3 separate regions of the Homo sapiens genome follow, and all the other regions are linked to region 3. The links are contacts of gene promoters, found by promoter capture Hi-C in human tissues and cell types (Jung and others, 2019). All regions are on one chromosome and are shown on one strand. The core of a region is centred on a gene start or on the middle of the fragment in contact, and the rest is flanking DNA. Distances in the headings are between cores, read along the strand shown. Region 1 overlaps SLCO3A1 (solute carrier organic anion transporter family member 3A1). Region 2 overlaps SLCO3A1 (solute carrier organic anion transporter family member 3A1). Region 3 holds the start of VPS33B (VPS33B late endosome and lysosome associated).

Region 1 (3,202 bases), core at 645-3,144, 1.1 Mb after region 3:
TATTTGTCTCTAAGCTTTCTGTCATTAGGAGAACTGTGTTGGGATTTATTAAAAATTACTCATAAGAAATAAGCCTTGTGCATAGAAACAGACGAGAAGGGAAGATCTAAATGCATGTCAGTGTTTCTGGGTGGTGAGAGATGGTGATTTGTGCTGTCATCTTTGTAATAATGATTGCTAAAATTTATTGAGCACTTACTGTATGCCAGGCGCTGTGGAAAGCCCTTGTGAGGCACTAATCACCCAAACCTCAAAACAATCCTGCGAGGTGGGTACTGTTAACCTCACTCACAGGTGAGAGTATGGAGGGCCAGAGTAGGTAAGTACCTTTGTCAAGGTCACACAGCCAGTGACTGCAGACCCTGGCCATGCAGCTCTAGGGTCTGTGTTCTTGGCCACTGTGTTATTCTGCCTCTCTACGCTTGGTTTATCCTCAGTCATCCTTAATGAGCATGTGCTGCTTTTAAAATGAAGAAAAGGGGTTTTGTTTGTAAATTAACTTACATGGTTCCAGGAATGATAAACGCATATGAAGAAAGACAGTACAAATATAATAATGCCTAAAGGGAAATATGAGAACGATGCTAATCCTTTACATGATCCTGTATTTTCCACATTCTCTAAAAAAAGCAGAGTTTACCTAAGTGATTTAAAACGTCATAAAAAAAGAAAATCCTGCTGTTAGAGGCACCAGTAAGAAGAACAAATAACAGCTGATGGTTTTTGAGAATGTCTGTGTTCCAGGAATTGATCAGAAGCATTCTGTGCACTACGTATTTGACCCTCAATAACCCCTTAGGAGGTAGGGATTGTTGTCATCCCATTTTACAGAGGAGGAAACTGAGGCCGAGGGAGCATTTGTACCATGCTCACAGACACACCAGTACAGCAGAGCCTTGACACCGATCCTCCCTCAAGGTCAGTAGTACCTCTCTGTCCTTTTCCACCCCAGGAGACCTTGAGGGTCAGAAACACGAATGGGTGCATCTAATTGCAAAGTGAGTAGGGGAGCTGATAGCAGTCCCTGGGTTTCTGGATGGCCTGTTTGGCTTTGCTCTCAGGGGCATAAAGAGTTTATGCCAGCAGGTAGCAGATGCCTGCAGCTCCTCGGGCAGCCTGTGCTCCTCTCACCCAGCCCCACAGGCTGTTCAACGCAGGAGCCATGCCCCATGCTACACTTTGACAAAGAGAAAAATAAAGGTTCACATGGAAGGGTCAACATTTTTCTCAAACAATGCAGCATGCACCACCATAGCCAGCCAGTGATAGTATCTCTTCCAAGAGCAGGCCTTCCAGTGAGCCTGCAGAAGCCGCAGGGCCAGGCGGAAGGAGGGAGAACAAGAATGGGTGCCATGGAGTCTTCCTCTTGGAGCATCAGTGGAAACTGATGTTTATGAAGTGCTTCATCTGTGCCAGGGCTGGGCCCCCACCATTGCTTTCATTTATTACTCACCACAGCCCTATAAAATGTCTTAGTAGCACACTACTTTTCAGATGCAGCAAACCAGCATAGAGAGGCTGAGGGGGCTCCCCAGGTTTCCAGGCAGTTAAGTTGGTAGTACTTGGACGCACATCCAGTCCAGCTGTAGAACCCACTCTGAATCCCACCCCACCTGCCCTCTGAAGGGCAACTGGGCTTCCCTGCTGTAAGTTTTGATTTCAGAGTAGCCGTGTGCCTGCATCTGAATGGACTCCTCGATTCAAGGAGCTGCCTTTGAATAGCAAAGTTTAGTTGTTTTTGTTCTTCAACCCTGTCTATTTGCACGTGAGCTAACTGGGGACCCAGTTTTGCGTAGGCATATTGTGGTTAAGCTGCTGCCTGGAAGCCAAGTGCCCCGGGGCGAGCTGCTTAAGTGGGCCTCATGCCTTCTTGGATGAAACTGGGATGGTAGCACCCAACCCATTGCCTAGTTGGGAGTAATCCTGAGGTAACATTGGTGAATCACATAGTCCAACTGGCGTCACACAGCAGGCACTCAAATAGCCATTTGTGTGTATGTACTTATATCACGCATGTGCATACGTGTGTATTAAAAATATTAAAATCACGTTTTCTTGCCTGAAACGTAGATACACAGCTTACACGTTGTTGTGAAATAAATACCCATGAAGTCTATAAACAAATCAACCACAAAACTAGCATTGGAGAATCTCCTCCCCACCTGTCCCCAAGGACCCTCCCTTCCCCCGACAGTAACCACAGTCCTGACTTCTGTAATAGTCCTTTCCCTGGTGTTCTTTATAGTTTGACTCCCTGTCATTAAAGAGTTAACTTTGCTGTTTGGAATCCTGCATAAGTAGACTCACACCAGGACGTGTTCTTTCAACTTCAACCATGTCATTGATGATCACCTATAGATGATCTGTTTTCTTTGCTGTAGAGTAACTCCAGAGTACGGGAGATCACAGTATGTTTTTCTGTTCTACCATGGTTGGGCATTTGGGATAGTTTCCAGTTGGGAAATCTTACAAACAATGCTGGTGTGCGCATTCTTGGATGCTTCTCCAAGAATGTGCAGTCCGTCAGCACACTTGCTGTGGGGTGTTTACCAAGGACTCAGAATTGTGCATCATTGGATTAGTTTATCTTCACTTTTTCAGACACTGCCAAGTTTTGCCAAGGTGTTGTCCAATTTACACTCCTACCAGCAGTGTAGGAGAGCTTCAGATCCTTGCCAACACTTGGTAGTGTCAGACTCTTTAACCAGCTGAAACACACTCGTATTTAATTGGGGTCTAAATTTATAATTCTCTGAATTCTAATGAGACTGACCATTTTCTTATATCTTATTGTTCATTTGGATTTCCTGTTTTTTGAAATGCCTATTAAGGTTTCTGTCGATTTTTCTCCTGGTTTTTTTCTTTCTCATCAATTTATAGTAGTTTTTATATAGTCTACATATGAACTCCTTGATTCTTACATGTATTATAAAAATATATGTGTTGCACATGTATTTTCCCACATTTTCACATTCTTGGTGAACTCTTCTGATAAATCAGCTTCACTCTGATAATGAAGTTGTTAATTGTAATGTAGTCCAGTCTTTTCTTTCAATAGCTAGTGTTTTTTAAGTTTGTTTTAAGAAATCTTTCAGCCGGGCGCAGTGGCTCATGCCTGTAATCCTAGCACTTTGGGAGGCCAAGGTGGGTGGATCACCTGAGGTCAAAAGTTCAGGACCAGCCTGGTCAACATGGTGAAACC
Region 2 (3,487 bases), core at 727-3,226, 1.0 Mb after region 3:
GCATTTGTGCATTCAGCAGTTTCTTTATTGTTGTGAAGCAGGTTCTTTCACCAATGGTGACTCACTGAATGCTCACATAACTCCATGAAATGATTGGCTTTAGCCCCATTTTACAGATGAGGCAGCCAAAGCCTGGAGAGGTTATATGTGAAAGGATAACACAGGAAGTGCCAGGACCAAGATTTGATTCCAGGCTGGTCTGACGTCAAAACCCATGATCTTAGAGATGAGTGGTTACAAGGAAAAGACACCCATTGATAGGGTTTATTTTAAGGGTACAGTTGGATAGTTTACAGGCAGGTCGTGCCTGCATCTTTCTGCACAGTGGCTTCTCCTCCTGGCCTCTGCTACCCTCCCTGCTTTAGCTTCGGTGCCAGCCCCAGCCCCCAACCTTATTAAAGTCTCTTAGTCTCTGTGTCTGAAATCCAGATTCCCAGGAAAAAAACTATGTGATTGGCTCAGCTCGGGTGAGTGATTTGCTCAAGGTTCAATAAGCGGTGTGTGTTCAGGGTGGGTTTGGTGACGGAAGGAAGTGACTGGTTTCTCCAGTACCCCCAAGCTCTTGCAACTGACCCTAAGCTACCATTGCCCTGCTGTCACCATGGCAACGGAGGCCAATTCTGCCCAACACCTTGGGACAAAGATTTTACCAACCAGTGCCTAGGCCACAGCATCCTACAAAGTGAAACCACTGGAGATGTGGGCAGACACATCTGTTTCTTCCATTTAGCAAACAAGTGGAGCTAGATCAGCCCCCCAGAAATCGATCTTTACCAAGACTTAATGAAGAGTTAGCTAGTTAATAGCCCATGACAAATCCAAACGCTGTTAGAGGTCTGACAACCTAGATATTAACAGCAGCAGTGGCCAGTTTCCAAGAGATTACTGACATTTAGGGCCATTCAGGAAGACATCTGGGAGGAAATAGTCATGGAATTGTTTAAGGCCCAGCTAGGGAGGCGGGGAGGAAAAGAAGACTCGACAGCTTTGTAATGTACAGTGACACTGGCACCTCTTAGCAAGAGCACAAGTTGCTCGTGAGCTTTTTAATCACAGAAGAGTTCAGAACCTGAAGGAGCAGCAAATGTCAGCGGAATTTCTTCCAGCTTAAAATGAATCCAGCAGGCCCCTAGATGCCCAGAACCCTAGTGCTGTCTGAGATGTTTCCAGGGGTCATTGCCTCATGACCGGGTGACCAATAGTCAATGCTCCTGATCACTAAGCTGCACACTTAGGTGACTGTCACAAACAAATAAGCATGGCCTTTAGCTTCTGGTCTTGTGGACTTTTTCTGGTGATGCTGCCTCTGCTCTCTGCTTCGAAGGTGTTAGCACCTGTGGCCTTTTCAGTGCCTTCAGCAGGTGTGGATAGTGCACCTCTGTGGGCTGGGCACTCTGCCCTTGAGGAGTCGCCAGCCACAGAGGGATGGCTTGTTTGAGACCAGGCAGATGACAAGGCAATTTATTGCAAGCTTTAAGAAGAGTGGAAACAAACACACCTAGGGAACACATTTTCAGACTTGTCTGAGCAGATGCGATGTTGTCACAGAGTCCCTGCACACGGAGGCACGGTGCCACCATCCAGAGATTCAGGAAATGCCTCCTGCTCTCTGGGAATGCACACTGGTATGGTCGGAAGTGGATACAAGCCCTTGCCCTCATTACCCACATCTTACGTGTCAGTAAATGCTCTCAGCTCTGTCTCCAAATTACACCCCAACCCATTACATCTCTATCTTCTGTCCACTGTGCTAGTCCTGGCCACTATCACTACCACCAACCATATCATGTGTCCACTCTGTAAGCCATTACTCACTCAGCAACCAGAATCATCTTTTAGGTCACGTCCCTGCTTAAAATGTTTTGGTGGCTTCCTGTTCCACATAGGATAGAACCCTGACTGCTTATCACAACTGGGAGAGCCTGCCTTCCTCTTCAGCCTGTGTCTTGCTATGCTGTTACGGCTCGGGATGATGTAGCCTCCTGGCCCCTCTTGCTATTCCTCACATCCATCAAACTCACTCCCACTTAAGACTTTCACGCATGCTTTTCCCTCCACAGGTGACACTCAGCCTTCAGACATAGTCTTCTTGTCTCTCAGGCCCCAGCCCAAATCCACCTTCTTAGAGCAGACTTCTCTGACCCATCCAAAGTTGCCTTCTGCCCCACGTCACTCTGTCACATACACCTGTTGTGTTTTCTCCATAGTATTATTACCTACAATTTTCTTGTGTTTTTCTCTTACTATGATAGAGGTGCAAATAATCAGGGGAATTAAGTAAGGCATATAGTATGCTCAGGGTCCACAGTGAGGTGAAGGCTTCAGGGCAGTGGTAACATTTGAGCTGGAACTTGAAACAGGTGTGATTTGCCAGGTCAAGAGGTGGATGGAGAGATTTCATCAGAGGCAACAGCATGTGTGAGGGCCCAGAGGCTAGGGAATGTGTCACCCTTAGGGAACAGCTTTGGGACAGCATCCCTGTAGCCTGGACTGCATAGGAAGGCAGAGCAAGAGTGGCTGGGGGCATTTAGACTTCATCTTGTGGGCAGTTGGAATCATCAGTGCACAGGGAGGGATTCACTAGACCTCATGGATTTGCTCAATGGAACCAAATAGGGTTTGAAAGTGTAATTGAGGGGTTTTTTGATTTGGAATATTTTTATTCCAATTTTATTAGGAGCCAAGCCTGGAGAGGGAGGGAGAGTGTGCTAAGACCAGGAGCTTCAGTTTGGAGTACGAATCAAGGAGGGGCTTTGGAGCATGAGAGCTTGTCTTCTGATCCCATCGTGAAATGAACAGCTACGTGACCGTCTTGTGTGTGCTAGGTTCGTGCTTGTATCTGAGAGATGAGAAATGGCAGAAGGAACAGCCGTGAAATCAGCAGATTAACTCTTCAAAGAAGACACTTACATTTTCCATTGATGGCCTCCTCCCTCTCCTTTTAGTTCAAGCTGGACAGAAACAAAAGTGCTGCGTGATGAGGGTTAGATGCTCTTTGTAATTCTACAGCAATGAGTCTTCTTTTTAAAACACCCAGATGTCAGTACTATTTTGGGCAGATGTACTGGGGAGCAGTTGGTGATGACCTCACGAGGCTGTGACTTTAAAGACCAAATGACACAGCTTTTGAGTAAAGCAGGCTCCGGTCTCCTAATCCCCGGGCTCCAGGGTTCTCGAATTCAGAGCAAAAGTGGTACTCCACACTGCCCGTGTCCCTGCTCATCGCCATATCCCCAACCCCTCCTTGCCCCAAGCTGCTGAGTGTGCACAGAACTTGTGTGGTTGGTCTGGGGCTCTAAGACAAGTTTCCTTGGACAGACAGCCTGTACTCAGCTGGGTGTCCATGCTCCTGTCATCCACCTTGAGATGGGGTCAGCATTGTATCAAGTTCTCTCTCTCCACTTTGAGCCTCTGTTCCCTTATCTCAGGAAAGAGGGTGAGCAATACCTACCTGGAGACACTGGAAGACAGATTGGCCTTTTGCATT
Region 3 (3,234 bases), core at 253-2,752:
TTCTAATTATTTTTCTCATTTCTATTCAATGTTAATACAACAAATATTTATTAAGCACATGGTGTGTGCTTGACTCTAAGCTAGGTACTCACTAGGTAGTGTTGAACAAAACAAACATGATCCCTGCCCACCTTCCAGTCTAATGAGGAATACAGACATAAAATGAATAACTAAATGATTACACAAGTAATCCATTAAAATCACAGTGGCAGTATTATTTTCCTAATAACCCAGGTTAAAAATCTCACTCATTTTTGCTTCTCCTTCAACATTTATAACCAATCAGTAAGTCTTTGAGTTTTCTTTCACCATAACTTAAAAATCCATCACTTTCCTTCATTCCCACTGCTACCAATTTTGTGTGGGCCTTTATTTCTTGTCTGATCTACGGTCTCCTAACTGGCCTTCTTGTTGCCCATTTACGCCACCACACACATCACTATTAGAATCATCAAGTATTGTCTCATGCCACAAATGGAAAAAAAATTTTTTTCAGTGGCTACTGTGTAACTGCTGATGGGTGTCTTCCCTTACATGCCTTGTCTTTCCCTGGTTTGCCAACTTTGCTCCTACCAATCTATCTGCCTGGAGCATGCTTAGTCTCCAAAGAAAATATGCTTATTACTCACACTCACTTCCTTGAAGCTCCTAGATCATCACCCCAACTAGAAATGATCACTTACTGTGAACTCTTCGGGTACACTAGCTCTATCACTCATTTACCACCTGTGTGTGATAATTTGTGCTTCATACAGCTCCTACTGGAGTGGTAAGATCCCTAATGGCAAAGATGTCTTAACCATCTTTCCGTCCCTAGGGATGCCTGGCACTAATGGTGTCTCCCTTGCCTGTATGCGGGGTTGGGGGGTGATTTCCATTAACTCTCTGGCCAGGTTCCAAACAGCTCTTACTACTCCCTGGATTCATTCTGGACCTGCTGGGGAAGCGCCAAGGACAATACCAGGGGCCAAGAACAAGATCAAAGGGGCACGGCAAGGAAGAAATGTGCATCCAATGAGTGCTAAACTGTAGATGCGATAAAGGCGTCAGGCAAGCACTGACCTGCTCCAGCAGATAGATGAGCTGGTCTCGAGCCAGCCTCTTCAGCATGGAGAAGTCAGGCAGCTCAGGGGCGTCCGGCCGATGGGGAAAAGCCATGGCAGCGGTCACCTGCGCCGCGGGGTGGAAGGACGCCCTTCGTTCTGAGAAGGCCGGCCGCAGCCCAGGGAAGCGCAAGGGGGGCTATCCTTCAGGCCTGGGCACCGACTTCCAGAGACCCCAGATGGGCCCTCGCTCCTCAGCAGCACTCCAGGAATGAATGGCCACCTCCAGGCAAGAGAGCTACTACCTCGGAGCAGCCTTGTCTCAGACCTGCAGCCACCGTGTCTCGACCCTCCCTCCCTGATCCACTCTGCCCGTCAGCAGGATTCCGGTCTACACCCCGCAGAGACTCCGCAGCGTACGAGGAGAACCCCGCCTTCTACCAGAAAAAGAAGCGACTTCCTAGATCTCCCGGAAGTCCCTTTCGCTCCCAGCGCTTCGCGTACCAGGAAGGGGACGGCGTCCTGAAAGGGACATTTGAAAAACGGAGGCAACGCGTCTATTAATTAGGTGGCGGCGCCTGGGGTCGCAGCACTCCAGAGGCTGAGGTGGGAGAATCGCTCGAGTCAGGGAGGCGGAGGTTGCAGTGAACTGCGATCGCGCTACTGCACCCCAGCCTGGGCAACAAAGCTAGACCTTGCCTCAAAAAAAAAAAAAAAAAAAAAAAAAAAGACATAATGAATGCATCAGGCTAGCTAACAATACCTCAACTCTGATCAATCATACCATCATATCATTTCCTGGTGAGATGCATAGGAAATACAGAGCATCACCTATTGCCAAAAATTGAACCTAATCAAGCCTCAAGATCTAACTACCAGTTTATAGGCTATATAGAGATTAGCAGGAATATGTTAAGACACCAAAGGTATGAAATCAACCATATCCAAAATGTAGGAAATTATATGGGACAAATGATCTGTCGTCTTCAAAAAAATGGCAAAGTGGGAAATGTGGGAGGGGAAAACACTTCAGAATAAAAGAGATTTAAGAGATGTATCAACAAAATGTTTCAATGTGTGGATCTTTTTTGGATAATAATTCAAAGATAACTGATTTAAGGAATTACTAAAACTTTTCGGGTATTGTATTTCTTTTCTTCTCTTTTTTTTCCTGACAGAGTCTCGCCCTTTTGCCTAGTGGAGGAGCTCGGCTCACTGCAAGCTCCGCGCCACAACCCCCCTGCCGCCCCAGGTTCAAGAGATTCTCCTGCCTCAGTCTCCCGAGTAGACTGGGATTACAGGCGAGTGCCACCATGCCCGGCTAATTTTTGTATTTTTGGTAGAGACGGGGTTTCATTATGTTGGCCAGGCTGATCTCGAACTCCTGACCTCAAGTGATCCGCCTGCCTTGGCCTCCCAAAGTGCTGGGATTACAGGCGTGAGCCACAACGTTGGGCCAGGTATTGTATTTCTATGTTATTATTATTTTTTGTATTTCTATGTCATACAGGCTTGTATTTCTGTTAAAAACAAGTCCTTATCTCTTTGAGATACATACTGAAGTTTTTACAGGTGAAATAATTTGGCCAGGAGTAATGGTTCATGTCTCTAATTCCCACCACTTTGGGAGGTCCAGGTCGGGGTCGGGGGGTTGCTTGAGGCCAGGAGTTTGAGATAAGATTGGTCAACTACAACACATAAAAAATAGCCAGGCATGGTGGTGGGCACCTTTAATCTCGATACTTGGGAGGCTGAGGCAGGAGGATCACTTGAGCCCAGGAGTTTGAGGCTGCAGTGCGCTACGATCATGCTACAGCACCCCAGCCTGGGCAACAGAGTGAGACACCGTTTGTTTTTTCTTTTCTTTTTTTTTTTTTGAGACAAGGTCTGGCTTTATCTATCACCCAGGCTGGAGTGCAGTGATATGTTCTGTCTCTTTTTTTTTTGAGATGGAGTTTCGCTCTTGTTGCTCAGGCTGGAGTGCAATGGCACGATCTCAGCTCACTGCAACCTCCACCTCCCAGGTTCAAGCGTTTCTCCTGCTGCAGCCTCCTGAGTAGCTGGGATTACAGGCATGTGCCACGCACCCAGCTAATTTTGTATTTTTAGTAGAGACAGAGTTTCTCCATGTTGGTCAGGCTGGTCTTGAACTCCTGACCTCAGGTGATCTTCCCGCCTCAGTCTCCCAAAA

What was found. Contacts are between HindIII fragments. The study calls those that stand out against the background at their distance.
Region 1: a contact is called between a fragment that was not itself captured here and the fragment with the promoter of VPS33B in region 3, in 1 of the 25 tissues and cell types used here (heart left ventricle).
Region 2: a fragment that was not itself captured here is called in contact with the fragment with the promoter of VPS33B in region 3 in 1 of the 25 tissues and cell types used here (aorta).

Annotation. Positions count from the first base shown.
Region 1 is chr15:92,083,601-92,086,802 of GRCh38, forward strand. The region is part of intron 2 of SLCO3A1 (solute carrier organic anion transporter family member 3A1); the gene reads left to right. Among named protein-coding and RNA genes, the nearest start is that of SLCO3A1, 230 kb to the left of the region's middle. The HindIII fragment of the contact is 4,745 bases long and covers 1-3,202 here.
Region 2 is chr15:92,048,877-92,052,363 of GRCh38, forward strand. All of the region lies in intron 2 of SLCO3A1 (solute carrier organic anion transporter family member 3A1), which reads left to right. Among named protein-coding and RNA genes, the nearest start is that of SLCO3A1, 200 kb to the left of the region's middle. The HindIII fragment of the contact is 8,153 bases long and covers 1-3,487 here.
Region 3 is chr15:91,021,092-91,024,325 of GRCh38, forward strand. VPS33B (VPS33B late endosome and lysosome associated) reads right to left here and starts at 1,503. Exons shown (of 23, transcript NM_018668.5): 1 at 1,063-1,503. The coding sequence starts at 1,158. VPS33B-DT (VPS33B divergent transcript) reads left to right here and starts at 1,531. Exons shown (of 4, transcript NR_110104.1): 1 at 1,531-1,649; 2 at 2,222-2,880. RefSeq lists enhancers at 587-1,203, 1,058-1,467. The HindIII fragment of the contact is 30,515 bases long and covers 1-3,234 here.